Regions from separate parts of the Homo sapiens genome. Here all the other regions are linked to region 1. The links are contacts of gene promoters, found by promoter capture Hi-C in human tissues and cell types (Jung and others, 2019). All regions are on one chromosome and are shown on one strand. Each heading gives the region's core, a stretch centred on a gene start or on the middle of the fragment in contact. The rest is flanking DNA. Distances are from core to core; before and after follow the strand shown.

The links. Contacts are between HindIII fragments. The study calls those that stand out against the background at their distance.
Region 2: a fragment that was not itself captured here is called in contact with the fragment with the promoter of LINC00908 in region 1 in 2 of the 25 tissues and cell types used here (lymphoblastoid cells and spleen).
Region 3: a contact is called between a fragment that was not itself captured here and the fragment with the promoter of LINC00908 in region 1, in 1 of the 25 tissues and cell types used here (spleen).
Region 4: a contact is called between a fragment that was not itself captured here and the fragment with the promoter of LINC00908 in region 1, in 2 of the 25 tissues and cell types used here (dorsolateral prefrontal cortex and spleen).
Region 5: a fragment that was not itself captured here is called in contact with the fragment with the promoter of LINC00908 in region 1 in 6 of the 25 tissues and cell types used here (H1 embryonic stem cells, adrenal gland, heart right ventricle and 3 more).
Region 6: a contact is called between a fragment that was not itself captured here and the fragment with the promoter of LINC00908 in region 1, in 2 of the 25 tissues and cell types used here (lymphoblastoid cells and mesenchymal stem cells).
Region 7: a contact is called between a fragment that was not itself captured here and the fragment with the promoter of LINC00908 in region 1, in 2 of the 25 tissues and cell types used here (IMR-90 fibroblasts and dorsolateral prefrontal cortex).

Annotation. Positions count from the first base shown.
Region 1 is chr18:76,525,606-76,529,952 of GRCh38, forward strand. LINC00908 (long intergenic non-protein coding RNA 908) reads left to right here and starts at 3,050. Exons shown (of 3, transcript NR_015417.1): 1 at 3,050-3,358. RefSeq lists enhancers at 2,792-3,432, 3,433-4,071, 3,569-3,648, 4,072-4,347. The HindIII fragment of the contact is 15,253 bases long and covers 1-4,347 here.
Region 2 is chr18:76,395,185-76,399,107 of GRCh38, forward strand. All of the region lies in intron 3 of ZNF516 (zinc finger protein 516), which reads right to left. Among named protein-coding and RNA genes, the nearest start is that of ZNF516-AS1, 95 kb to the right of the region's middle. The HindIII fragment of the contact is 6,024 bases long and covers 1-3,923 here.
Region 3 is chr18:76,655,877-76,659,775 of GRCh38, forward strand. LOC107985151 (a long non-coding RNA gene) reads right to left here. Exons shown (of 3, transcript XR_001753506.1): 2 at 1,795-1,915; 3 at 441-603. Among named protein-coding and RNA genes, the nearest start is that of LINC01927, 19 kb to the left of the region's middle. RefSeq lists an enhancer at 2,831-3,332. The HindIII fragment of the contact is 5,712 bases long and covers 1-3,899 here.
Region 4 is chr18:76,716,059-76,720,073 of GRCh38, forward strand. No RefSeq gene overlaps it. Among named protein-coding and RNA genes, the nearest start is that of LINC01879, 28 kb to the left of the region's middle. The HindIII fragment of the contact is 6,667 bases long and covers 1-4,015 here.
Region 5 is chr18:76,697,154-76,701,030 of GRCh38, forward strand. No RefSeq gene overlaps it. Among named protein-coding and RNA genes, the nearest start is that of LINC01879, 9.1 kb to the left of the region's middle. The HindIII fragment of the contact is 4,225 bases long and covers 471-3,877 here.
Region 6 is chr18:76,371,909-76,375,750 of GRCh38, forward strand. The region is part of intron 4 of ZNF516 (zinc finger protein 516); the gene reads right to left. Among named protein-coding and RNA genes, the nearest start is that of ZNF516-AS1, 120 kb to the right of the region's middle. The HindIII fragment of the contact is 6,110 bases long and covers 1-3,842 here.
Region 7 is chr18:76,681,332-76,685,051 of GRCh38, forward strand. LOC105372212 (a long non-coding RNA gene) reads right to left here. Exons shown (of 3, transcript XR_935657.4): 3 at 2,215-3,331. Among named protein-coding and RNA genes, the nearest start is that of LINC01879, 6.8 kb to the right of the region's middle. The HindIII fragment of the contact is 5,868 bases long and covers 1-3,720 here.

The sequences.
Region 1 (4,347 bases), core at 1,800-4,299:
TCCCAGCCTCCCGGGAGGGGCTGGGCTAATTTATATGTCAAGTTAAGGGATGCTGGGACTCAGAGATCAAAGAAGGTCAAAACTGGGCTCTTGGAATGGGAGATATTTATTATGTTTAATATAAATACAAATGTGTCCAAGAAGAGAAACTGAAACCTTAAAAGGCATGTAGATTGTGATTGGTAAACATAAATAACACATCTGAAAATGGGTAGATTGCTAAAATTAACAGGCACTTTTAAAAGCTGTCTTAATTTAAATCAGGATAAATTAAGACAGTGACAACCTCAATTGAAATTGAAAATACAAATCACTTGAAAACGTTGATTAAAATTTCTAACAAGACTTTAGAAATGTCTTGTAATACCTTCTGACTATAAATGCACTTTAGACATTTCTGGTTTCACTCCTCAGCTACATGTTTTGTTATTAAGAGCATTTGTTTCATACCGTTAACAATACAGCACTAGTTTGACAAATTGTGGTATGGGGGTGTGAGTGCCTGATGGAGAAAGAGGCTTTGTCTTTTGGGGGGCCCATTAGTGAAACAACTAATAAGCCTATAGCAAAACTGATATGATGGGAAATGACTTCTATTCAGTTAACTCGATTATTAGTGCTAATTGGGGCCAGGTGAAGCATGGATAATTGAAATTCACAGATAATCCAAAAACCTCTATTTAACCAATAACTTCAAACTTCTTCCCCATCAAACCAATTACCGGAGGAGCTAACAAATAGAAAAAATGGATTAAATTGAATTTCACTTCCCCCAAAGATTACCACTATGATGTCTTTTTTATTGATTAATTCAGAGCAAGAGCCAAAGATTAACTATATTTTAGAGACTAAATTACAGATAGTCCCCAACAATTAAAAAGAAAAAGATTATATTCCAACGGTTTGTTTATAAATCAGTTACTTCAGTTACTTGAAGCTCAGAATGCTTTTTCTCATAGAACAAAGCGTCGATTGGGGTAGGGTACCAAGGTAGCACACAGAGGTCAGCCAGTAACCCAATGACACTGGAAATATATTTAAGATTCTCAGCTCCTTAGTCAAGTTCTTTTGAATCCTAAATCCTTACCCTCCCACCCCTAAATCTCTCTGAGCCTTCAATCTATTTTTTTAACTGAAGTAAAACTCACATAGCCTAAAATCAAAAGTGTACAACTCAGTGGCATTTAGTGTAGTCACGGTGTTATGCCACCATCACCTCCAGTTTCAAAACACTGTCCTCATGCAGAAAGGAAAGCCCCCTTGGACCCATTAGCAATCATTCCCCATCCCCGACTCCTTCAGACCCTGGCGACCTCGGATCTGCTTTCTGTCTCTATGGATTTGCCTCTTCTGGACATTTCATACAACTGGGCTCATAACAATCTGTGGTATTTTGTGCCTGACGTCCTCCACTCAGCATAAGGCTTTTAAGGTTCATCCACGTTGTGGCATGTGCCAGTGTTTCACTCCTTCTCATGAGTGAATAATATTCCATCGTGGGGATACAGCACACTTTACTTATCCATTCCCCCTCTTGGAGGGGTGCTTGAGTTGTTTCCATTTTGTGGCTACTGCGAATGCTGCTGCTATTAAACCTGATTTTGACCCTGTGGTGGCATAAGGAGCTCATCAGGGTGAACTGGAAGGGGTGTGCCCCACTGCTGGTGTCTGGTCAAGCAAACCCTCACCCCTTGAGAGAGGAGTCAGTGGGAGACACCACTCAAGTCTCCATAATGAGGGACAATTTCAGGCTGGGACAACATGGTGGAGGAAGGACCTCTTCAGAGAGGAAGTGCACGTAAGGGGCAAGGACCCTAGAAAGACCTGTGGGACCTGTGGAGAGTATGCACGTCCTTCAGATTGAGGCTGGTTTGAGGCCGGGTGCCATGGCTCACGCCTGTAATCCCAGCACTTTGGGAGACCAAGGCAGGCGGATCACCTGAGGTCAGGAGTTCGAGACCAGCCTGGCTGACAAGGTGAAACCCCGTCTCTACTAAAAATACAAAAATTAGCCGGGCGCGGGGGCACACACCAAAAAAAAAAAAAAACAAACCTGGGCTGAGTGCAGAAATCAGTCCAATCCAGGGAGAAATCTGGCAAATACTCTTGGCCAGCTCCTGTTTTTCTGAAAACATAGGTGCCAGAAGAGCATCCGGTAGCAGCTGCCAAGTTCAATACTAGGACTCCACTCCACAGACAATTCTGTCACCCCATTGTGGGTGTCCTGGATGCCCAGAAAACCCACATCTCTTGATAAAGTCCTCCTGTGGTAAGTCTGCAACCCCTCTGCACCCAGCCCCTCTGCTGACACCCCCTCTGCACCCTGCATCTTTGCCAAGTGGGGAGAGATGCATTCCAGAACTCCAGTGGCAGGATCTGCCCTTGCCGGGATCATGCAGACTTGGCATTTTCCAGTACCTACTGTTGCTTGAGGTTTCTTATAATAGAGCAGGATGAGCAACACGACTTCTCGTTTTGTAATTTGGCACATATGTATATGTTTTATACATACATGCTATGTGTCTATATGTACACACGGCAATACATACGTGTATATGTATACGTATATATGTATGTCAACGAATACCTAAATATATAATCATATGAAACAAACTGTTTATCCCTGTTCCATAAACTTCATATCAATTCAATAAATAAAATTTATTCAAAATCCAATCATCCCAACACATTAACATTTAATTTTTCCCTATTTTCTGTCTGTGTTTGTCATTGAATATTAAAAGTTTTGCTTTTTTTTACTATTTCACCTCTTTTCTAGGTAGTCCATAATTTTAAAACAATATATATGGCACCACTTGGTCTTCACAGCTTTCAAGACAGGACTGTCAAGGCAAGGACACTCCTTAGGGGACCCTGTCCCATAAAGTCAAATTATGCGGGATGAGTCAGTGACGCAGGAGCTAAAAACAGTGTCCCTTTAAAAATGTGCATGCCTTTGAAATGGAATAAGTAAAGTACTTGCAGATGCAAATGGTTTCAAGTTTCACTGGAGACCCAGCGAAAGCGGCTGTTCTCAAAGTTGCCAGGCAGTGTGGAAACGCCCACTGAGGGGCACACAGTGAGGCGGCCACTGGCTCTGTGTCCTTGGGGAAGCCCCTTCTGCGGTCCCCTCCATTGTCTGCGTGACAAAGTGGACGTAGAACTCCCCCATTTCCTGCCCAGGGCGGGTGAGGACCCTGCACACACACGGTGTGTTTGTGAGCTGTGCAGAGTGGGGTCTCCCTGGCAATGGCCACAGCCTCCAGGGGCGCTGACACCTCCCGTCTAACTGGTAGACAGTTTCTGCCTCTTCTTGTTTGGGGATTGGAGAGGGAAGTGCGTCTGGATGACTACTAAGGTAAATATGGAATGGGCACCGCGTCTTCCCTTTCTTCTCTCCCTTCCCACGCACCTGCCTGGCTCCCCGGCTCTCCCGCCCTGGCCAGAGTCAATGTGAGCTGCAAAGTCCATATGTGAACAGCTGTGGGCAAGTCGTGCAACAGTGCTCATGGGACTTACTACGCATCTAAGCCGCTGAACTTCAGCTGGACCCCAAATGGCCTTGGTCACGTTTTGTTTCTGTTTTGTCATTTCCGGCTGCATCTCCCACAGTCTCAGCCCTGCGCTCCTTGCTCTGCCTTCTCCTCCCCACAGCTTCTTTGCAGATAACATCCTGGCCGTATTATGCAACTGAACCCATATTATCCGGGGGAAACTTACCCTCCTCTGCTCTCTAAATCTTCCTTTTCCTTCTGGTTTTGGAGAAAGAGGAGCTCCTTTCCATCAATCAGGTCAACCTCTTCCTGTTTCCTTTCTTCATTCTTCGTTATTTTCCACTCCTGAGTTTTGGACTCTTCTCTCGGTCAATAAGTATATCCGAATTCTTCCAGCTGTAAAACCAACAAATGAAAGGCCTCGTGTACCAAGGCTGCCCCCGCGTGCGGCCCCCCGGGCTGTGTGGCCTTGGCCTGGAACACAGCCCCGCTGCCACCTTCCTGCACTCCGTGGGGGAGATGGGCGGTGCACACTACCCAGAAGTGGAATGTGCATTTCACAGAAAATGACCAATTTAAGCAGAAAATTAAAGCAGAAAACGGGGTGAGAACGGCAGACGCGTGTGTGGGCACCGCAGCGTACACGCTTAGGATCCCGAGTTTATTTTTCTAGGGCCCGTGTGTTGGTGCGCATGCGCGTGCGCCCCCACCACCTGAAATCTTGGTAGTGCCTGTTAACCCGGCAGTAGACCCATGGGTGAATTTACTCTCTTCTCTGTGTCTTTCTGTATTTTCCATGCTTTCTGTGACGAACAACATCATACATACCGCTACTTCTTTTTTTGGGGGGACG
Region 2 (3,923 bases), core at 157-2,656, 130 kb before region 1:
CCCAGCAGAGTGGGTTTCCCACACAGGCACTCCTGCTGCCGCAGGGCCTCTGCGCTCGCTGTTTCCCCCGCAATTCACAAGGCTGCACCCCGTCCTAAACGAGCATCTCCCAGACACCAAGAAAGCAAACCTTGTTTCACAGCTTTATCGCCACTATCTAGCGCATCTGGCTCCTGGGAGAGAGACCATCAACAAATATGCATTTATGGGATGAATGAGGTGAGTAGGAGTCATTTAATATCCAAGACTCACATGCAATGAGACAGTGCACAGGAAACTGCTAAAAAGCATGAAGCGCAAGATGAATTCGTTAATTCAGCAGGTATCTCTTAAGGACCTGCAAATAAGAACAGTAACGTTAAGCACAGGCAGCCTCAGGGGCAGGTACGGAATTCTGGCAGCACAGAGCACAGCTCTTAACCCAGTTACCAACCTCGAGTGGGTGCTGAGGTGGACATCCCAGAGCTACAGTCACTGGAGTCAGTGACCACGGACAGGCTGGAGGCCACGCATTCTAGATGAGGGAGTCTCTCTCCAAAACAAGACGCACCAGCACGTGCCGAGGAAATGAAACTCCAAATGACGGTAAGATAAAGCACTTCCCAAATGACGTCACCACCCTGGTCACACTGCAGCCGGCCGTGAGGGTGGGCCAGCCGCCCTGCAGGAGCCAAGTGTTTCAGGGACAGGACCCCGCTCCTCGTCCAGCTCCCCACACCGCGAGCTTCACCGTCCGGAAGTGCGCAAAGCTGCAAGTGAAAGAGGAAGCCCTGCCTTCTTCCCAGCATCCACGCTCCTGACCCAGAAGGTGATCCACGTACAACCTGAAGTATGAGATTTCATTAGCAGCCCATTCTCTTAATTAAAAGCCAGATGGAATATTTGAGGTGATGGCCTCGAATGGTAGATGGTGCTCAGGGCTGACAGCAAATAGGATATTCAGGTCACTGGTTCTCCCATCCCCAGTAGCTGTGATTAGGAGATGGTCACACCCCTCCTTCACTTTCTTCTTCTTAGATGTTCCCTCTTATTTAAAAAGAAAAATCTATGAAACTAGCCCCATACAAGTGTATGGGCATGGGGAACAAATAGGTATTTGTGATATAAAAGCAAACAGCCTCTATCCAAATGACACTGAGGATTTCAACCATATATGGCGCGCAGGGTCACCCTCTTCCCAAGGTGAAAATGCCCAGTGCCAGGAGCCCGACGCTGTCTCAGAACTCAGGGCCACTGCATTCAAAATCATTTCAAGATTTCAGCATTTACTTTTAATATTTGTGAATCTGTAGTAACTTTTATAACAGACATGACTAGTTAACAAAAAACTGGATTTGACAGCAAGAACATCACAGTCATCAACAGTGTTGCTCAGAAGAAGATCCATCTATCACTTTTAACCTGTCCTGAAAGGGGGAAACTTGATGAAATCAGGCGTCCAGATTTCATCACAATTTGAATTTCTAAGACAATCAAAATGCCAGAGACTAAGACAAAACTACATAGACATCTGGGGGGAAAAACAGCCCCTGGAAAGATATTCAAGCTGAAAGGATCTTGGCAGCAGGCAGAGTGGTTCTCCAAACTGTGGAGAAGAGAGGCCATTCCACTGAGAGTGAGAGGCCGGAGCACCGCTGTCAGACGATGTTTTTGGATATGATGTAGAAAATGCACGAGGAAAAGTTGTAGCTATAATATCCACGGGGGCTTTTCCATGAAAAAACAAGACATAAGCTGCCTGTGCAAGGGGAGCCAAAGAAATGCTGAAAACCACTGCCACAGGCTGGTGTGATCTGGAAGTTCTCCTCCTGAAACACAAAAAAATAACCCAGACAGACTCAGTGCTTCAGAGGGACACAAGGAGCACAGAAAAGCCGGGGGACACATAATTGCTTTCAGAGGCTACGCAGTTCAGAAGCAGGTGCAGCCCATCAGGAAGCCACAAGCCCCTCCAGAGGCACCGAGTCGGGGAGACCCAAGCCCCAAACACCAAGGCCATGGAGTAGGAAAGTGACAGCGTGGGTCTTGCCCTCATTCTCATCAAAGGGCAGCCCTGGGCTTTCATACAGAATAATAAACGCTGCTGCCAATCGTCCAGCTCAGTCCTATGGCCAGAAAAGTTTCTTCTAAAGAAATGTCTTCAAGAATGATTCTTATCATGACACATACAATGTGAACTACAAAAAAAAAGAAAAAAAAATCTGAATGACAAGAAAATGCCAGGACTAGAGCAACATGGAACTGAATGGTATTATAAAATTTTGATAAATTATACCCCAAGATGTTTATTCTACTTTTTCTGGATGACTGAGTACACGTTTTCATTTTAAGTGATAATCTACTAACATAAACAACTTGCGAAAGTATGTTATCTGTGTTAACAGAAAATTACATAAATATCTTAGTACTCTGGACACGATATTTTATTTTTGAGACAAGGTCTTGCTCTGTCACCCGGGCTGGAGTGCACTGGTGCAATCACAGCTCACTGCAGCCTCAACCTCCCAGGTTCAAGCCCTCCTCCCACCTCAACCTCCTGAGTAGCTGGCTCTACAGGCGTGTGCTACCATGCTTGGCTACTTTTTTAAAAACTTTTTGTAGAGATGGGTCTCACTCTGTTGCCAGGCTGTTCTGAAATTCCTGGGCTCAAGTGATCCTCCCTGGCATCTCCAAGTGCTAGGATTACAGACATGAGCCACTGCGCCCCCAGCCTTGGAAGCTGTATTTTGATGTCCGAACAAAAACAGTCCCAAATTAAATATAGAATTTCTGACTAGACAAATTATTCGTGTTACTTTTTAAATCAGTGAGTACAGAATCAACAACTTAAAGGTTAATCAAATACCTCTAGCTTCCATGACAGCTTTCGGTTAAACAGCAGTTTATCCGGCATAAAACATAATCAGGTTCCAGAAACCTGGAATTTACTAACTGCTTCCTATTGACTCAACCATAAAGAAGCGTCGCTCAGGTTTGGTTTTTCTGTTGTGAATCAAATGCTGAAGTGAATCGAATTCAAGTTGGCTTTCACGGCTACTCTACACCTTACACACCTTCCTTCGTCCCCAGATCCTAACAGCCAACCAAAACACATCCACTGGAGAAAATACAATCAATATATTCTTTTATTATTTTTTAAAACATGGCAAACCATACTTTAATCAGAGAGCAATGAAGATTTCCACTTACAAATTTATCCAAGTTGGCAAAAAATAATTAGCTAACACGAATCTTTCCTTGTATGACGCAGCTGTCTGAAGCAGATGCCAGCTAGCACAAAGGCCGTACATGAAGTCTTATCAAGAATGGTGGCGGGGACTGTCGGGAAGAAGGTGCTGACGCCGCTGGTAGATGTTAGAATGAAAATAAGGAAGCTTAGAGTAAGGAGGAGAGCAGGAAAGCCAGGCCCATAACACTAGTTATGAAGGAATGGGGGCCTTTCTGAAGGAATGGGGGCCTGGAATCTTCCAACAGGAGTCACAAAGAATACAATTAAACCACTTGTGTGTTTTCTCCTACACAAAGTGTTTTAAGAGGCATAGGAGGGAGTAAGTCTCAGGAAGAGAAATAACACTGTACACTTCTCCGACTTAAAGCCAACTAATATACACACAAACTAGCTAGCACCTGCATGGCTTTCTACAACTTTTTCTATTGCGATGCATAAATGTCCAAAAACACAGAATCCAAATTCCGTGTCTTTTACAAAGAAACTGTAATGAGTCTTTAAAAAAAAAAATCAGGATCACTTATTAGTAGAGTCTTCAGATTTAAAATCAGGCATGTGTCTGACTTACGGAACAAAGGCCATTTCATAACACAAGCGGTCTCTGTCCTCCGTGACAGAGGAAGGCGGATTTCCCCGAGGCATCCTGGCAGCCCGCGCAATGCATGGAAGCTACCACTAGATGGCACCTGCGCCC
Region 3 (3,899 bases), core at 10-2,509, 130 kb after region 1:
CCAGAATAGCCTTCAGTTACTGATGGTATCAGTAAACACCGAGGGCTTTGCTTGAGAAGATACAGCCACTTCTGGCCATAAATTCATTTTTCAAAGACCCCTTGCCTATAATACCTGGGCAAAACCACTCAAGAACAAATGGTATTGTTCACATTAAACAAAAAAGCAAAATTTCCAACAGCACCACCCCTGCTCATGTCCCACATCTATGGAACCAGTTCTTTACTTTCTGAAGCACAGAGGAGTTTTACTGTCTGGACATACCCAGCAGGAAAGGGTCAATCGTTGGCATTATCTGAGGAAGTCCATGTTTCCCCTTATATGACACCAATAACCAATTGCTGTCGTGAGAGATTTTTCCACATTAACTCACTTAATCCTCATAAGAACCCTATAAGGTAGGGACTATATTTAGCTCCATTTTATAGGAAAATGCGAGAGGAAAGCTGCATCACTTGCCCGATGTTACACGTCCACTAGACGGTGGTTGGGGGACCCGGGTTTGGACTGAGCAGCTCCTGCCTTTGTCATCCATGGCATGCACCCTCTTGCTCGGAGGAGGTCCCCTGCATCAGCCCAATCCTGGCTTGGAAAAGTCTCAACCTAAAATGAGTGAGAGCAGTTTGAGTATCGTGAGTAAAATTTGGAATAAATTAAAGATTTAATGTTCCCTTATTAACAAAACATAACTAGCTGTGCTTCAAAAAGAAAAAAAACACTTTTGAATATTGAAAAGGCATTTCTTTTATTTACATAATGATCTATATCCAGATGTACAGGAAACAAATCCCAGGTTATAACAATACCTACAGCTCCGAGAAAGATACCTCTTATTATGCTGTATTTCTAATACAACTGATTCTAAATACAATTGATCCTCTTAAATTCCATTTTGAAATATTTTCCCCATCTGCTTGCTTACAATCTATTTTTCAGAAGCAACTGAGTATACATTCGACATAAAACTGAAATATTTACTCAAAATGTCAATGCATACTGCTCCTGACACATTTATATGAAGGATAATTTCTTGGTGATTGAATAATTTTTAGGACTACTTTTTGAAACATCCCTTGTAAGTAATTTAGACCTAGACTGTATTTCCTATAATGTTAAGCACTCAGTAACTGTTAAGAGGCATAAATCAGCTTACTTTGTAAATTAGTTTAAGTGATCGCTGCTCCTAGGAAAAACAGAGACTGTTCCCAGTGCCCCTGATGACAGATGGGGGCCAGGATAAGGAGCATCCTGCTCTGTGGACATCTTCTTTTCACTTCTCCCCCTGCATACTTCAAAAAATTCCATTGTCGCTTTTTAAATTACACAAAGGACATTCTAGCAGTGTTATGACTGAGGAGTGCATAAGGTAAATATAGGAAAATACAGATCAACAAATTTGTATAAAAGCATATGTCAACGGCTCCTTCAAATAGGCTCCAAATTGAAGTAGTGGAAGTAACAGTTAACTTTTAGTTGCAAAAGATTAAGAGTCCTGCTCTCTCTTGTGGCACCTCTCTTCCCATTTCTCTGGAACTTTTTGCTTCAATGTAGCTCCATTTATTGTCATGGTGCTTAGGCTGGGGCACTTTGTTCTGGCCATGCAGTTATCTGGGTCTGGATCAGTCCCTTTACTGCAGCCTTTATTGGTACTCAAAGGGTGAGGCTCATAAAAAAACAGGACCAAAGAAATGCAGCCACCACAGCTCAGGAGCCAGGCTAAAGCAGGAAATGATAATGATCTCTACCAGGGCTTTCAAGAGCTCAAAGTACTGTAAGAAAATGTGAATCACGGACCGTCTGAAATGAAGCCCCTCCAAGTCAGGATGGAAAGGAGGTGCCGCCATCTAGGAGAAATGTGTGGAGTAGACGTGGATGAGCAAACCATCTGGAGTTTTATCAGCGTCCTTCTTGTTCCCTGGAAAAAAAAAATGTAAACTTTGCACAAAAAACACCATTTATTATTTATTTTTTTCCTTCCCTTCCCTTGGTAGCTTTCTGAAAAGACCAGAGCTTAATAATTCAATGATCATAAAAATTTCTTCAACTTAATGAGAAATTCAGTTCTTTCCTTGCAGGGCAAAAAATCTCTCACATTCTCACATTGTATCATGGCAGGGAACACTGCATCCGTGTGGAGAAACACCATGATCCGCTGAATAAAATCTCTCAGGAAACCTGAAGCCACTCACTAGACTGTGCAAGGCGGATTAAGATCGAGGGCGACATCGCAGTAGAGTCTATATATAGATGCCCACATGATGAAGAGCTCGAGGAAACCTTTTCTGGTCAACTCACCAAAGCTTTCAGCTACATCTGGTTATGATGGGGCATGAAACTCCTGTTACATTCTGGAAAAACAATTCAGCTGACCACAGACCACCAAGTCGATTTTTGGTCTACACTGGAGAGAACTTCCTCCCTTAGAACGTTGGAGGAATCAGACAGAACAAGGTCTGTTGCTCATCTGATCTCTAACAGGGAAGAGATCATGAGAGATTTAGAAATCAGTCTCTTGGAGGTAGATGGGTTAGAGGAATGAGTGGCAAAAAAAAAAAGACACAATATATAAAGGGAAGAAAACTGAAATCAGAAAAAGAAAGAAAAAGAACTTTCAGAAATATATGTTCTATTTAACACAGTGGATTGACCAGATGGATTTTATCTTCTCTTTTACCTAAAGCTCTGCATAATAGTTTTAAAGATATTATTCATAATAACAAAGAAAATGAGAGGAAAAACAGCAGCCAGTGAGATATTTCAACAAGGTACAGAAAGCAGGAACAGATGAGAGGTGGTAAAGTACAGGGAACGTGTCTACAGCTGAAGATGTGGACAGGAAGAGGTCGTTTACCACAAGGAGCCCAACAAAAAGGGTCTCCTTCCATAGCTGGGCCACAGGGGGAGCTCTTGCCCTCCTTCTCCATCTCACAGGGGTGGGGGCGCTCCATGCAGGGGGCCCAGGAAGAGTTTCCTCAGTGCAGGAGCCCCTGACCACCTGCTCCCAGACAATCAGAAGCCATGGGTGGGCGGCCTTCCCCCGACAGGGGAAATGAATGATGCCCCTAGCCCACAGGCCCTGCCGTGACTCAGTCTGGTTTTTAGTACCTTGGTCGTCAATGTGAAAGGACAGTCTAGCACCACAAAAGATTTGATTTAAAAAAAATAATGAAAGTTACAAAAATTAACATAGAGGAAGCAGTCTATAAAGAGAGCAGAAAAAAACTTTTAAAAAATCTATATTAACATCCTTAGGCAAATGCTGCATTCATAAAACAGCAAGATGAACGCACACGTGCACGCAGACAGAGACTAAATCACAGCTCCTGGAATTTGTAGGAATGACAACTAAAATAAAACAAAATTTCTGGCCAGGCGCAGTGGCTCACGCCTGTAATCCCAGCACTTTGGGAGGCTGAGGCGGGTGGATTACAAGGTCAAGAGATCGAGATCATCCTGGCCAACATGGGGAAACCCCATCTCTACTAAAAATACAAAAATTAGCTGGGCGTGGTGGCGGGCACCTGTAGTCCCAGCTACTCAGGAGGCTGAGACAGGAGAATAGCTTGAACCCAGGGGGCAGAGGTTGCAGTGAGCTGAGATCGCGACACTGCACTCCAGCATGGCGACAGAGCGAGACTCCGTCTCAAAAAAAAAAAATTCTGTAGAAGGTCTGAAGGATGAAGTCAAGTAAAAGTTCACAGAACTAACAAGTGCCCAAATGTAAGAGACCTGCCAAGGACCAGCAGAATGAAAGGAGACATGATCACAGGTCTGTCGTCATGGAATTCCAAGACGCCATCATTCAATAGATGATCTTGAGGGCTTTAAAATGGGAACAACAAACAAGCAGCTCCCAGGTGAAAAGGCATTAGAATGGAAGTGAGTTGCTCAGTCGCAGG
Region 4 (4,015 bases), core at 626-3,125, 190 kb after region 1:
GAAAAGGAAGAATAAGGTTTTTTTAAAAATAGCGTCAGGAGTTCGAGACCAGCCTGGCCAACATGGTGAAAACCCATCTCTACTAAAAATACAAAAATTTGCCGGGTGTGGTGATACGTGCCTGTAGTCCCAGCTACTCGGGAGGCTGAGGCAGGAGAATCGTTTGAACCGAAGAGGTGGAGATTGCAGTGAGCCGAGATCGCACCACTTCACTCCAGCCTGGGTGACAGGCTGAGACTCCGTCTCAAAAAAAAATAAATAAATAAAAATAAATAGCTAGAAAGACTGAAAGCTTTACTCCTCAGATAAGAAAAAGACAGGGATTCCTGCTTTCACCTCTGATATTAAACATTGTATTGGAAGTTCCAGTCAAAGCACTTAGGCAAGACATACAAATTGGAAAGGAAGACGTAAAACTATTTCTATTGCAAATTACATGATCTTCTATGGAAAATCCTAAAGAAATTTAAAAAAAACTTCTAGATTATCTTAGTTCATTTTCTGTTGCTATTATAGGATACTACAAAATTAGGTAATTTACAAAGAAATGTATTTCTTACAATTCTGGAATCTGGGAAGTTCAAGGTCAAAGATGAAATATGGCAAAGATAGAACATGACCCTAGCACTACCTGATACAAGGGACAGACTCTTATCAGGCGTGTCTGAGGTCGCTGGGCGCTGTCAGGAGGCCTGGCTTCCTCCAGCTCCCTGCTCCTTCTCAGATTCTGTCATGACCAAATTCCCAGGAGACGTGAATGTTCTATTTCATTCATCTGGTCAAGGTGCCACATCTGGTGAGAGCCTTCTTACTGTATCGTAACATGCAAAGGGCACCACCTGGCAAGGGGGCAAGGGCACGCCAGCACAGGTCTCTCCTCCTCTTCCTAGGAAGACATCACAGGGCCCCACACTGATGTGATGGATGATATGATGCCCCTTATCTCATCCTAATTCTCTCCCAAAGGCCCTGTATTAGTCAGGGTTCTCTAGAGGAACAGAATTAATAGGATATATATAAAGGGGACTTTATTAAGTATTAACTCACGTAATCACAAGTTCCCACAATAGGCCATCTGCAGGCTGAGGAGCAAGGAGAGCCAATCCAAGTCCTAAAACTGAAGAACCTGGAGTCCAATGTTCAAGAGCAGGAAGCATCCAGCACGGGAGAAAGACGTAGGCTGGGAGGCTAGGCCAGTCTAACTATTTTACATTTTCCTGCCTGCTTTATATTTGCTAGCAGCTGTTTAGATGGTCCTCCCACCCCCCCGGATTGAGGGTGGATCTGTCTTCCCCAGCCCACTGACTCAAATATTAATCTCCTTTGGCAACACCCTCACAGACACACCAGGATCAATACTTTGCATCCTTCAATCCAATCAAATTGACACTTAGTATTAACAATCACAGGCCTCATCTCTTGATCCTGTTACAATAGGAATTAAGTTTCCAACATGCATTTTGGGGTGACATATTCAAATCACAGCACAGATCTAATATACAAATTCAGCCAAATTGCAGAATACATGATCAACACAATCAGTTGTGTTTCAATACAATGAAAAACTCAAAAAGGAAATTAAGATTAAAATTTCGGCTGGGTGCAGTGGCTCATACCTGTAATCCCAGCACTTTGGGAGGCCAAGGCAGGTGGATCACGAGGTCAGGAGATCAAGACCATCCTGGCTAACACGGTGAAGCCCCATCTCTACTAAAAATACAAAAAATTAGCTGGGCGTGGTGGTGGGCGCCTGTAGTCCCAGCTACTTGGGAGGCTGAGGCAGGAGAATGGTGTGAACCTGGGAGGCGGAGCTTGCAGTGAGCTGAGATCGAGCCACTGCACTCCAACTTGGGTGACAGAGCGAGACTCTGTCTCAAAAAAAAAAAATTCATTTACAATAGAATCAGAAAGAATAAAATACCTAGGGATAAATTTAATCAAGGAGAATGTAACTGTGACAGACTTGTGAACTGAAAGGTGTAAAACATTGCTGAAATAAATTAAAGGAGCGATATAAATGGAAAGACATCTCATTTTCATGGATTGAAAGACTTAATATTGTCAAGATAAAAAGCAATCTACAAATTCAAACTCAATCTTTATCAAAATTTCAGTGGCACTGCAGTGAACGCGAATAACCAAAACAATCTTGAAAAAGAAGAACAAAACTGGAGGACTCACACGTTCCGATATCAAAACTTATGACAAAGCCACAGTAGTTAAAACGGTGGTACTAGCAGAGGGATAGACATATAGACCAATGGAATAGAATTGAGAGCCCAGAAATAAATCATATCTATGACAAATTGATTTTCAGCAAAGGTGCTAAGACCATTCAATGGAGAAAGAATAGTCTCTTCAACAAATGGTGCTGGGATCACTGGATATTCACGTGCAAAATAATAAATTTGGAACCCACTTCACATGGTATGCAAACATTAACTCAAAATAAGTCAGTGATCTAAATATAAGAGCAAGACCAGGCCGGGCACGGTGGCTCACGCCTGTAATCCCAGCACTTTGGGAGGCTGAGGCAGGCTGATCACTTGAGGTCAGGAGATTGAGACCACCCCGGCAAACATGGTGAAACCCTGTCTCTACTAAAAATACAAAAACATTAGCCGGGCGTGGTGGTGGGCACCTGTAGTCCCAGCTACTTGGGAGGCTGAGGCAGGAGAATGGCATGAACTCAGGAGGTGGAACTTGCAGTGAGCCGAGATTGCGCCACTGCACTCCAGCCTGGGCAACAAAGCAAGACTCTGTCTCAAAAAAAAAAAAAAAAGATCAAGACCAAAGGGGCAAATCTTCATGACCTTGGATTTGGCCAAAATATCTGACAAGGGATTAATATCCAGAATATATAAGGAACTTCTATAACCCAACAACAACAAAACTTAATTTTAAAGTGGGCAAATGACTGAAATAGACATATATACACATACGCACACATACACACAAATGGTCAACAAGCACATGAAAAAATGCTGAACATCATTAGTTATTAGGGAACTACAAATAAAAAGCAAACTTCATACTCACTAGAATAGCTATAATTTAGAAATATGAAAAATAATAAGTGTTTGTAAGGATATAGAGAGATTGGAATTCACTTTTTTTTTTTTTTTGAGATGGAGTCTTGCTCTATTGCCCAGGCTGGAGTACAATGGCACAATTTTGGCTCACTCCAACCTCCATCTCCCCGGTTCAAGCAATTCTCCTGTCTCAGCCTCCCGAATAGCTGGGATTACAGGTGCACGACACCATGCCTGGCTAATTTTTGTATTTTTAGTAGAAATGGGGTTTCACCATGTTGGCCAGGCTGGTCTTGAACATCTGACCTCAAGTGATCCTCCTGTCTCGGCCTCCCAAAGTGCTGGGATTACAGGCGTGAGCCACCATGCCTGGCCTGAAATTGGAACTCTTGTATACTGCTGGTGAAAATGTAAAATAGTGTAGACCCTATAGAAAACAGTATGGCAAGTCCTAAAGAAATCCAAAATGGAATTACTGTATGATCCAGCAATTCCATTTCTGGGTATATATGCCAAACAATTGAAAGCAGAGACTCAAACAGATTATATCCTGGTATTCACAGCAGTGTTATTCCCAACATCAAAAAGCTGGAAACAACTGAAACGTCCATGAACGGATGAATGGATAAACAAAATGTGGTATATACCACAGAATACTCCTTCAAAAGCAAAGAAATTCTAATATTAATACATTCATAACATGGATGAATCCTGAAGACATTATGCTAAGTAGAATACACCACTCACAAAAAATAAATCTTCATGATTCCACTTATATGACATGCCTAGAGCAATCTAATTCATAGAGACAGAAAGTCAAAAGCCAGTTAGCAGCTGAGGGAGGGGGGAGTGGGGAATTATTGTGTAGTGGATCAAAGTGTCATTTTGGGATGATGGATGAGTTCTGGAGATGGATAATGTTGATGGGTGCACAGCAGTGCAAAGGTACCTAATGCACAGAACTGTATGCTTAAACATGGTTA
Region 5 (3,877 bases), core at 1,333-3,832, 170 kb after region 1:
CTGCAGGTCATAAAAATAGCAGGCAATAAACAAAGTTAGACATAGTACACTTCCTTTTAATATTCCAACAAAAGAGTGTCCTTGGAGACGAGAGCAGGTGGGGGTGCAGGTGAGGAGCCCCGGACGTCCATGGGGCACAGAGAGCCCCTCTGAGGGACTCCTGTGCACTGGGCAGACAGCAATCTCTATGTCCAGAAACTTCTGGGCTTCAACCAAATATACAATGAATTTGGGGTGTGGGTTCAGGACAGGAAGAAAGCACACACACGTTAGCGTTTTGTTCTTTCCTGAATCGGCAGCTTAGTATGGAAAATGACCCTCTGGGACACTCCCATTTGTCTAACCCAAGTGGGGCGTGGAAGGAAAGGAAACTCCGTGAGACTCCGCTGAGTCTCGGGCAGGGCACGTTGTAGACGTCTGGGGCACACTGGCCCCGCTCTGCATCCACAGCTGGATTCTCCACCCCTGAGCAAGACAAGGAGCCCCAGACAAAACGCTCAGGATTCCAGAGGATGGGGTTGAGGATCCTCAGCCTTTCAGAGTGAAAATCCACGAGGCGGAGGAGGTTTAAAACAACAGAAACAGGCATGTGGGGAAAACCATAGGTTCAATTAGAAGCACTGTACAGACGTTCTGTACAAGAACTTCCTGCGCAGAGGAAACAGGATACCAGGAAAAGTGGAAACCCTATTGTTTACTTGGAGGTAGGAAAAGAAATAGGTGGGTGATTTGTTTCCATAGTGACTATTGTTAAAATGAGACAAACTGACACCGATACTGATTTATTCTCCTTTTCAAGCCTTTTTAAAAGATCGCTTTAATCTGAGTTGGTCCTTGAATATAAATAAGAAGACAAAGTTATCGTTCACAATTATTATTTTTGGCCACTTAGAAATGAGATTTTTTAAAAAATGAAAACATTTAAATAGAATGTGTTTTACATATAGGAATTGTGTTCTGGGTATTTGCAATTTAATCCTAAATCTTAAAATAATATTTTTTCCTGCTTTACCCCAAACTACAAGATGTGTATTTGCTGTTGGTGACCTCTGAACCCACATCACAGGAGTTTGATTTATAAAGGTGGACACTTAATCTGTCCTCCTGGACAGCCAGGCTCCCCACTCCTCCCAAGCTCCAGATGCTGTTTGTTACAAAATGGCGAGCATAAAAGGCCTTAATGGGTATCATCTCACAAAATCTCCACTCCCTCTCAGGAGCAGGGGACCTCCTTGCAGGGCAATAAGCAGGAAATTAAACACGTACACACGCATATGTACACACACATACACACGTACACACATACACACACAAACGTACACACACACATACATACACACATACACACACACAATTGGTGCAGTGACTCTCTGGCTCAGCTCTTGAAAGGAAGAAAAACCCAAAGAATGTTCTAGAAATTCCTAGGCCCCTGCTGGCTTAAAGTGTAGTTCTCACATGAGCCAAAAGTGAAGCCTGCCAGGGTATCGAGCCCCTGTGGCCCATCTCTACCTTCATCCCCTCAATCTTCTCATGCATTCATTCGGTTATTAATTCACCAAGCTTCGTGACGGCCCCCTAAGCTAGTGATTGTTCTAGGTACTGGGGCTGCCACGGTAAGACATGACTGATCTCTCTCACACCAATTAATAGTCAGCATTAAGGAGGTGTGGTTAAGCATGCAGGCTGCGGAGCGAGACTCAGAACCAAACCCTGGCTCTGACCCTTTCTAGCTGGATTTCATTGCCTGCACGCGCTCCCTCTCTCTCTTTCTGTGTCTGTCTGTCTGTCTCTCTCTCTTTCTCCATCTCTCTCTCTCTTTTTTATACCTGAAAATGCAAAGAATCGTGTCACCCCTATGCATTGCTACAAGGATCCATGGGATGCCGCAAGCAGGGCGTGCAGCCGCCTGTTCCCGGGTGCCGCACACGTGCTTGCTACAGCTATGAGGATTCTCCTGACTAAGGCGTGCGTCTAACCCTCGAGGAACTCGCTATCTAGATCTAATGGTACAGGAAAACGACTAGAACATTTGAAGGTGCTATCAATGCTATTCTTTTTTGGTTGAGTGGGATCCCCACAATTTAAAATTAAGTAAAAGCTGGCTAGGCATGGTGGCTCATTCCTGTAATCCCAGCACTTTGGGAGGCCGAGGCAGGCAGATTGCTTGAGCTCAGGAGTTCGAGACCAGCCTGGGCAACATGGCGAGACCCTGTCTCTACAAAAAATACAAAGAGTAGCCTGATATGGTGGCATGCAACGGCTACTTAGGAGGCTGAGGTGGGAGGATTGCTTCAGCCCAGGAGGTAGAGGTTGCAGTGCAGTGAGCTGAGATCGCACCACTGCACTCCAGCCTGGGTGGCAAAACCAAACCCTGTCTCAAAAAAAAAAAAGAAAAGAAAAGAAAAAGAAAAAGAAGAAAATTAAACTTAAATTAAGTAAAAGCTGCCATTTATTTTTAAAGCCACTTTATTGAAGTCTAATTGACGTAGAAAAAGCTGTACATATTTTATGTCTACAACTTGATGAGTTTGGAGATAAGTACTCACCTGTGAAACCTCACCATAATTTATGCCGTAAGCATATCCATCACCTCCAAAAGTCTCTTTCCACCCTCTGAATTAATTATTGTTATTATTTTGTGATACAAACACAAGATCTATCCTTTCAGCCAATTTTAAGTATACAATACAGTGTTGCTAATGATATGTCCACGCTACACAATAGATTGCTAGGACTTACTCATCTTGTATAATTGAAACTTTGCACCCCCTGACTCATCCCGTCCCGTCCCCCTCCCCCACGCTCCCTCTCTCATCCCACCCCTGACAATCACTGTTCCACTCTCTGCTCCTGAGCCTGACTAGATTCATCATGCAAGCAGCACCAGGCATATTTGTCCTTCTGTGTCTGGCTTATTTCACTTAGCATAATGTTCTCCAAGATCACTGGATGACGTGTGTTAATGAGGCCTCTGAAACCAAGCCTAGGACCAGGCAGAAGTGTGGAATGCAGCTGTGGAGCGAGGATCTAATCATTCTGCCCACTCTAACTGCCAAGATGAATCGCTCCATGGACGGCACGTTCTGAAGTAATCAATATCAATTTTCAAGACAGCTGAAATGTCCGATGAACCACACGGCAGCCGGGTGCAGTGGCCATGAGCTGCTGTCGCTTCCCAGTTAATGTGAAATGGAGAAATAAACACCTGTCAGGCCCTCCCATCCACGGAGGCAGGCGGTCTGCAGAATCTTGTTCAACAGGCTGTGTTTTCTATGCCACACCATGATCTTGGTTCCTTGGCTCGGCCAGGCGTGATGGTGGCGGGAGCCTGTAGTTCCAGCTACTCGGGAGGCTGAGGCAGGAGAATGGCATGAACCCGGGAGGCAGAGCTTGCAGGGAGCCGAGATCGTGCCACTGTGCTCCAGCCTGGGTGACAGAGTGAGACTCCATCTCAAAAAAATAAAAATAAATAAATAAATAAATAAAAATTAAAAAACTATTCTAACATTTAAAAATTTATTTTAAAATAACAAATATACTGTCGAAACATTTTAAAAATTAAAATATCCAGTTTTAATCTGTGTTTTGAGAAAAGGGAAATGGAATAAGTAGCTAATTGGTACATAAGTTGGTAGAAACTGTCAGAAAATAATTGTATTTTGTATTTCAAAAGGGTAAAGTTATAATTGCATTTTAAAACTGAGACATTTCATTCTAGGAATTTACATGAGCAAATAATCAGAGATGCACAAGACAGATCTGTGTGTGGGCATGTTTGCAGCCGCAATGTTTAGGAGTAACACTAATAAAAAGCAAGGGGGTGAGGTAGGGCGAATTTTAATTTGCTATGTGACTCTTAATCCTCCCACTCATAACC
Region 6 (3,842 bases), core at 26-2,525, 160 kb before region 1:
ATCCAGCAAATCAGAGTGACACCGGCGTGACAGAGACGAGGCTCATGGAAAATAGGAAGTGAGCGGGACCAGAGCCCACCGTGACCCGGCCGCGATCCTGGGAGACCCACGCAGAGTGAGTGCGGCCACAGGGTGGCCCCACCTCTGGCCCTCTCTCCTGCCTGCCTGGGCAGCTCTGAGGCCCCGGCCCCCAGAAGGGAGGGGACACCTACAACCACCAGGCAGCAGGCCCCCAAGGTGCGTGCACCTGCTGGCCATCGGCAAGGGGGGAAGTCCCCAAGTCCCACCTTTTCCCCAAAGATCATGCCACATCCCTGCACTCAAAGGCCGGGCTTTGTGTTTCCTTCTGATCCAAAAAGCCACACGACTTTGATTAGAAAGGGATGCAGAGAGCGTTTATTTGTCTGCACAACTTTTCTCTCTGAAGAAAAGGCTTGATTTCCATGTGCTGGCAGCTCCAAAGAAATTTCTCTGGCTGGGAGAGTCACTGTTATGCGCAATAGTAACTCAACTCAGTAGGAAAAACAAAAAAAACAGAAATAATAACTAGAAAAAGTTACACCTGTTGCAGTAATTTTTTAAAACGCTGCTTTATGCAGCTGAGTTTTTATGTATCTAAAGGCTGACACCTGAGTGTGAACAGCAAATGAAGAGAATGACAAAAGGCACCTTAGTCACACTGGTTGAAAACAAACCTTCAATATTGTTTCTCTTACCCTAATTCAGAGTAGCTCAATAGGTAAAAACATAAAATCATGCTTACACTATAGATCATGTTTATGGAAATAAGAAATGCATGAACTGTGAGGCACATCTTGTCAAATTTCTTATATGACAGATCATTAACATGAATCAGAGAAATTCAACAACTTAGCCACCGACTACTCAATATTCCCATTGCCTTACATACACAAAAGGAATAAGAAGAAACATTTCAACCAACACTCAAGTTAACAGGGGCCAGGTGCGGCGGCTCACGCCTGTAATCCCAGCACTTTGAGAGGCCAAAGCGGGAGGATCACTTGAGCCCAGGAGTTCAAGACCAGCCTGGGCAACAGAGTGAGAGCCCTCATCTCTACTAAAAATGTAAAAGCTATCCAGGCGAGTGATGCATGCCTATGCTTCTAGCTACTCAGGAGGCTGAGGTGGGAGGATCACTTGAGCTCAGGAGGTCAAGGCTGCATTGAGTTGAGATCACACCACTGCACTCCAGCCTAGGTGACAGAGTGAGATTCTGTCTTGAATGAAAGAAAGAAAAGAAAGAGGAAAAAGAAAAAGAACAGAAGAGAGAAGAAGCAAAGAGAAGAAGAAAAGAGGAGAGAGGAGGGAAGAGGAGGGGAGCGGAGGGGAGGGGAAAGGAGGGGAGACAGGAGAGGAGAAAAGGGAGGGAGGGAAAGAGAAGGGGAGAAAGAAAAGAAGGAAGTAAAGAAAAGGAAGGAAAGGAAAGAAAGAAAAGAGATTTTTTAAGCTATTTTGTTCCCCCATTCATTTGCATTAGAAACACCACCCAGTGGAGCTCCTACGAAATGAATTTCTGAATACTCCGGTTGTCTGGATTTTCCCAGGTACAATCTAGACTGCTTCTACAGGTGGAATCTGACCACGCCTACACACAATACTGACTAATGATGACGACATGCAATGTCATCTGTGTCTAACATTCACAACTTTCAAAAACTAAGTCATTATTCTTTTTTCAAGTAATTATTGTAGCTATTTCCTATCCAAATGAGCAACAGAGAAAACATGGATAGCCCTCCCACTCATCCGTGCTTATTTCCTTGAAGTAAGGGTGCATGAGCACGCGTGCACACACACACACGCAGGCGTACACGCTCACAAGTGCACACACACATATGAGTTTCCCACACATCTCACCATATCACTTTCTCTTTACTTTTTAAAGACAGGGCACTTGCCCTTATGGCCAATAATATTATGCCCAAGCTACAACATTCCGAGTCAATCACAAAGGTTATAAACTTCATTTGAACTGAAGACCACCTGGTAAGCACGCAGCTCAAATGTTCTCACCTAGAAATTCAAGTTGTGTTTGGAAAGTGGACTTAACGGTCAAAGAAAAAGGCCTGGCCAACTTCAGAGAGGGACACCCAGCCCTGCTACGTTGCGTGTCATTATGTGGTGCTGTGCTATCCATAGAGAAAGAGGAGATGAAAAAGATTCTACAAAGAGAGATCAAACTGCAAGAAAGCACAAAGCTTTCATCACCACAATATGAAGGCCTCCTTGGTATAAATGACTTTTTTAGGTCCCAATAAGAAATACCATCTATTCTATCTGGAATTATTTTATTAGCTTCAAATTTTATTCTAAGATTCATACTATCAGATCATCTAGACTGGCCGTAAGGTCTGAAAACACAGATCATGTATTATTTTATTACTGTTGTAGCAATAAGTCATTTATGTTCTATTCCTGTATGTTTATAGACTTGGTAGTCACACTGTACAATGATTACAGAAAATGCAGTGGGTTTTTCTTCTTAAATGGTCAGGGAGTCCCTAAAGGAGGTAGCAATAGTTCTTTCCTTCCTGTTTGGGTAGAGTTTTTAGACTCTTCATATCTACAGAAACATCACCCGAACACATGTGGGGGCGGGGAAGTCTTTGAGACTTCCGTTTCCTAACTTCTGAATAAAACCTGTCTTAGAAGCATCCTCCAATAGCAACATTCTCTGTATAAATGGAACATGTCCACTGCAAAATCACAGAATCACACTTCTAGCACCCACAACTATTGCATGTACACGTGAGATGACTTCCTATTCTCTGAGACCATTCTCCTCTGCATATTTCTACCTCCCCAAACTACAAAATGATGCTACAGCAATAGGGGTAATCAATGACCACTCACAGGGAAGTTGTGATCTTTACAGCTGCAGACGACACCCACCTAGCAGACACGTAACAAACACATGCGGTGAGAAGAGAAGACCAGAAAGCAGAGATACACTTGTATAATAAGACACGTCAAAAAGATCAATTTGACCAAGGAAGGAATGAAACAAGATTCTAGACTCATGACTCAAAAATCAACTACAGGTACACCACAAAAAAGAAACAGCTGAACAGAAACAAGTGGAAGAAAAAAGCCCTAAGAAAGTGTAGTTACTCCAGTATTCAGCAACACTCAAAAAAGGAAATCCAGGCTGCACAGATTTCCTGGGCTGCGGTAACAGAAATCGAGTCTCTGTAACAGGAAACATGAGTGTTCTGTTCACCTTTCCAATAGTCTGACCACACCAAGGCTGCTGGGTTTCCTTCTGGCTACAACACTTTAAGGGCGTCAAAAACAAACATTCAAGTAAGGAGAAAGGAAATGCGGAAGGTCCCAGAGACCAAATAGAGGATGGATGTGAAGGTCCTGGACACCAGGTAGAGAGTGGACAGGGAAGGCCCCAGAGAACAGGTAGAAGGATGGACACAGAAGGCCCCAGAGACCAGGTAGAGAGTGGACGTGAAGGCCCCAGAGACCAGGTAGACAATGGATGGGGAAGGTCCCAGAGACCAGGCAGAGGATGGATGGGTAGGTCCCGGAGACCAGGTAGAGGATGGACAGGGAAAGCCCTGGATACCAGGTAGAGGATGGACGCAGAAGGTCCTGGAGATCAGGTAGAGGATGGACACACAAGGTCCCGGAGACCAGGGAGAGGATGGACCCAGAAGGTCCTGGGGACCAGGTCTCCTGTCCTGGGAGACCTGGGAAGGCCCAAGATGGGAAGGCCCAAGAGACCAGGTAGAGGATGGATGGGAAGGCCCCGAAGACCAGGTAGAGGATGGATGGGAAGGGCCAAGAGACCAGGTAGAGGATGGATGGGAAGG
Region 7 (3,720 bases), core at 505-3,004, 150 kb after region 1:
CCTCCCACCTCAGCCTCCCAAAGTGCTGGGATTACAGGCGTGAGCCACCACGCCTGGCCTTTTTTGTATTTTTAATAGAGACGGGGGTTCACCGTGTTAGCCAGGATGGTCTCGATCTCCTGACCTCGTGATCCACCTGCCTCAGCCTCCCAAAGTGCTGAGATTACAGGCGTGAGCCACTGCGTCCGGCTGAGCAGCCCTCTAAGTCTCCACCTGCTGTGACAGGTTAGCAATGAGGCCCGGCTTCAAGTTCTTCAAAGGAGGGTCTACAGCCCAAGTCAATAGGGAGTAACTTTGCTGCTTTTATTTTTTTTAATGTGGTAAAACACATAACGTAAAATTTATCCTTTAACCGTTTTTGTTTTGTTTTGTTTTGTTTTTTGAGACAGGGTCTCCTGCCACCCAGGCTGGAGTGCAGCGTCGTGAACATAGGTAACTGCACCCTAGACCTCCCGGGCTCATGTGACCCTTCCCCATCAGCCGCCCGGGTAGCTAGGACTATAGGTGTGCACCACCATGCCCCACTATTTTTTTTTCTGTAGAGATGGGGGTCTCACAATCTTGCCCAGGCTAGTCTTGAACCCCTGGACTCACGCAATTCTCCCAGCCTCCCAAAGTGCTGGGATTACGAGTGTGAACCACCGTGCCCGGCCATTTCATCATTTTTAAGTGTGCAGTTCTGTGGCACTACACACGTTCACACTGCTGTGCAGCCATCACCACTCTCCAGCTCCAGAACTTTTCCATCTTCCCAGACTTAAACCCTGTCCCCACGAAACACAGAGGCCTCACTCCTCCTCCCCCAGCCCCTGGCGCCCCTTCCACTTTCCATCTCCTTGGCCCTGACTCCTCCGTGTTCCTCACCTGTGTGGCTCAGCAGCACGTGTCCCTCTGAGACTGGCTCACTGCACTTAACACAGTGTCCTCCAGTGCATCCGTGTCATAGCATGGAGCAAAATTTCCTTCCTTTCAAGGCTGAATTTGATGCCATCGTTCAGGTTTTTTTTACACAGCAAAGTGTGCAAACCACTGAGGACAGGGCTACTGCTGCCGGCCATGACCCTGAAGCCGTCTGTGTCCCAGCCCTGCACAGAGCTGGCCTCAACTGCTGCTCCCATTCCCTACTTCTCCTTCTCCCTACCTGGGAGCAGCTGCCAGGCTACCGCACAGGGTATGGAGAGGGAAGAAGCACCTGGGTGCCTTTTTTTTTTTTTTTTTTTTGAGACAGTCTCACTCTGTCACCCAGGCTGGAATGTGGAGTGCAGTGGCGTGATCTCAGCTCACTGCAACCACCGCCTCCCAGATTCAAGCAATTCTTATGCCTCAGCCACTCTAATAGCTGGGATTACAGGCACACACCACCATACCCAGCTAACTTTTGTATTTTTAGTAGAGATGGGGTTTTGCTCTGTTGCGCAGGCTGGTCTTGAACTCCTGACCTCAAGTGATCCGCCTGCCTCAGCCTCCCAAAGTATTGGGATTACAGGCTTGAGCCACTGCACCCAGCTCCAGCCCATTTTTTTGAGACAGGATCTCCTTCTGTCGCCCAGGCTGGAGTGCCCTGTCTAGATCTTGGCTCACTGCAGCCTCAACCTCCTAGGCTCAAGCGATCCTCCCACCTCAGCCTCCCAAGTAGCTAGGACTACAGGCGGGCACCAGCACTCCCGACTAATTTTTCTTTTTCTATTTTTAGTAGAGATGGGGTTTCATCATGTTTCCCAGGCTGGTCTTGAACTCCTGGACTCAAGCGATCTGCCTGTCTTGGCCTCCCAAAGTGCTGGGATTACAGGCCTGAGCCACCGCACCCGGCCTCGTTTTTAATTCTCACAATTCTCAAGGATAGTCGCGAGAGGCCTCAGTGTTTCCGTTTGACCAAGGAGACATACTGAGAAAAATCCAGTGGCTTTTCACATAGATCACGGTGCAGGTCCTTTGCCCTGGCACCTTAATCAGGAAAAGGAGCCCCTAGTGAGCCCTGGTTTCCTCATTTATAACGTTGGAAAAATAACAGTATCTACTGCATAGCATTGATTTGAGAGCTAAAACCAGATAATTTATGTATGGTGCTTAAACACAGTGTCTACAATTAGCAAGGGCTCAGTAAGAAGGAGCCAATATTAATATTATTAACATCATAATTTAAGAGGAAAAAATTCAAAGTGTGGTCCATGCCTATATTTCAGTTTTATGCAGCTATTTAAAATGGTGTTTACATTTTGTGTTTACAAAATTGTTTAATGCATGAGGAAATTTTTATGTTGTTAAATTTTTTCAAGTTTCCGAAATCATATATACTGTATGATTTCAATTATGCTTTAAAAAAAACCAGTAATAAAAACACAGGAGGAAATATGACAAAATATCAACAGTGGGCATATCTGGGTAATGAGATTGTGCGTAACTATTTTTCTACTTCTCTCTCCTTCAATCTACTTCCCAAGGAGCAGATAACTGTCTCTATAATTATAAATACAATAAATCAAAATGTAAGTAAAGTCGAATATGCACTAATCGAGCTTTGTTTTCCCATATGGTAGTGGTCCCCATCCCGGGCTGCACGTGAGGATCCCCCAGGAGCTTGTTCTCACCCAGGTTGCGGCTGCCCCCTGACCAGTGTCATCACCGGCAGGTGCCATCGACAGTCTGATGAGAAACAGCTGACAATTTTGATTCAGAATCTGAAAGTGGCTCACTGGTGTTATCAATACACACAGGATCGCTTTCATTTTAAAGTCACAAACAGAGAGTCAGTGCAGCTACAGGATTAGAGCTGACTGGCTGAGTGCTTTGTCATCTGAATTATCAGGACCTGGAGAGCAGGGGAGGCTCCCAGTGGGTGTGGATCTCAGCGCTGGCTGCCCTTTCTCCCCATTTTCACCTGTTTCGCCATTGCTCTCAGTTGCCACCCTGGCTCTAAGAAGCGGGGTCGAGAAAGAGCCACTGAGGAAACTGAAGAGGCCACGAGTCGATTCTGTGCCCAGCTCAGACTGTGGCTGATGCGCAGAGGCACGTGGGCTCTTGGAGGGTGGGGATGAGCTGGGCAGCCCCACGGCTCCTCCTGGCAGGGCCCCCATGCTGCGCGTCTGTGGGCTCTTGGAGGGTGGGGATGAGCTGGGCAGCCGCACGGCTCCTCCTGGCAGATCCCCCATGCTGCGCGTCTGTGGGTTCCACGGCAGCCAGTTCCAGGCACAGGGCATTCTTGGTGCACTTGTCAGGTGATTGACTCCGTGCAGCGATCTCCACGGGTCCTTTTGAGGATGATGCCGAGAATCTCTGTTTTACTCCTGGGAACACAGCAGCTGCCAAGGTTGGACATCACTCTTCCTAACACCTGGGAGATAGATAAGGAGTGCTTTAAATGAAGCTTCAAATGTTTCTAGTGGTTCAAGAGGGGCCCTGAATGTGTGGATCCTCCAAGCTCCCCTTCTCTCTGCACTTGGCTGTGTTGTCATTCACAGCCCAGCAACTCACCTTACAGAGGTTAGGAGGGAGAGGAGGCTACACATCTGCGTATTAATTCATAGAAAGCCTTGACCCCATCAGTGCCAAGTCCCAGCATGTTGTTGAACCACTTACATCAAGACAAGGCATTTGTGCTGCATCAACTCAGCAGTGATTGGCAGAGTCCTGTATTCATCATTCCTCCCGGTGTCGTCCTTTTAAAAATAATCTACAGGTGAGCAAATCATGAAAGTGTGCCAAACTGGTAGGCTTTTCTTT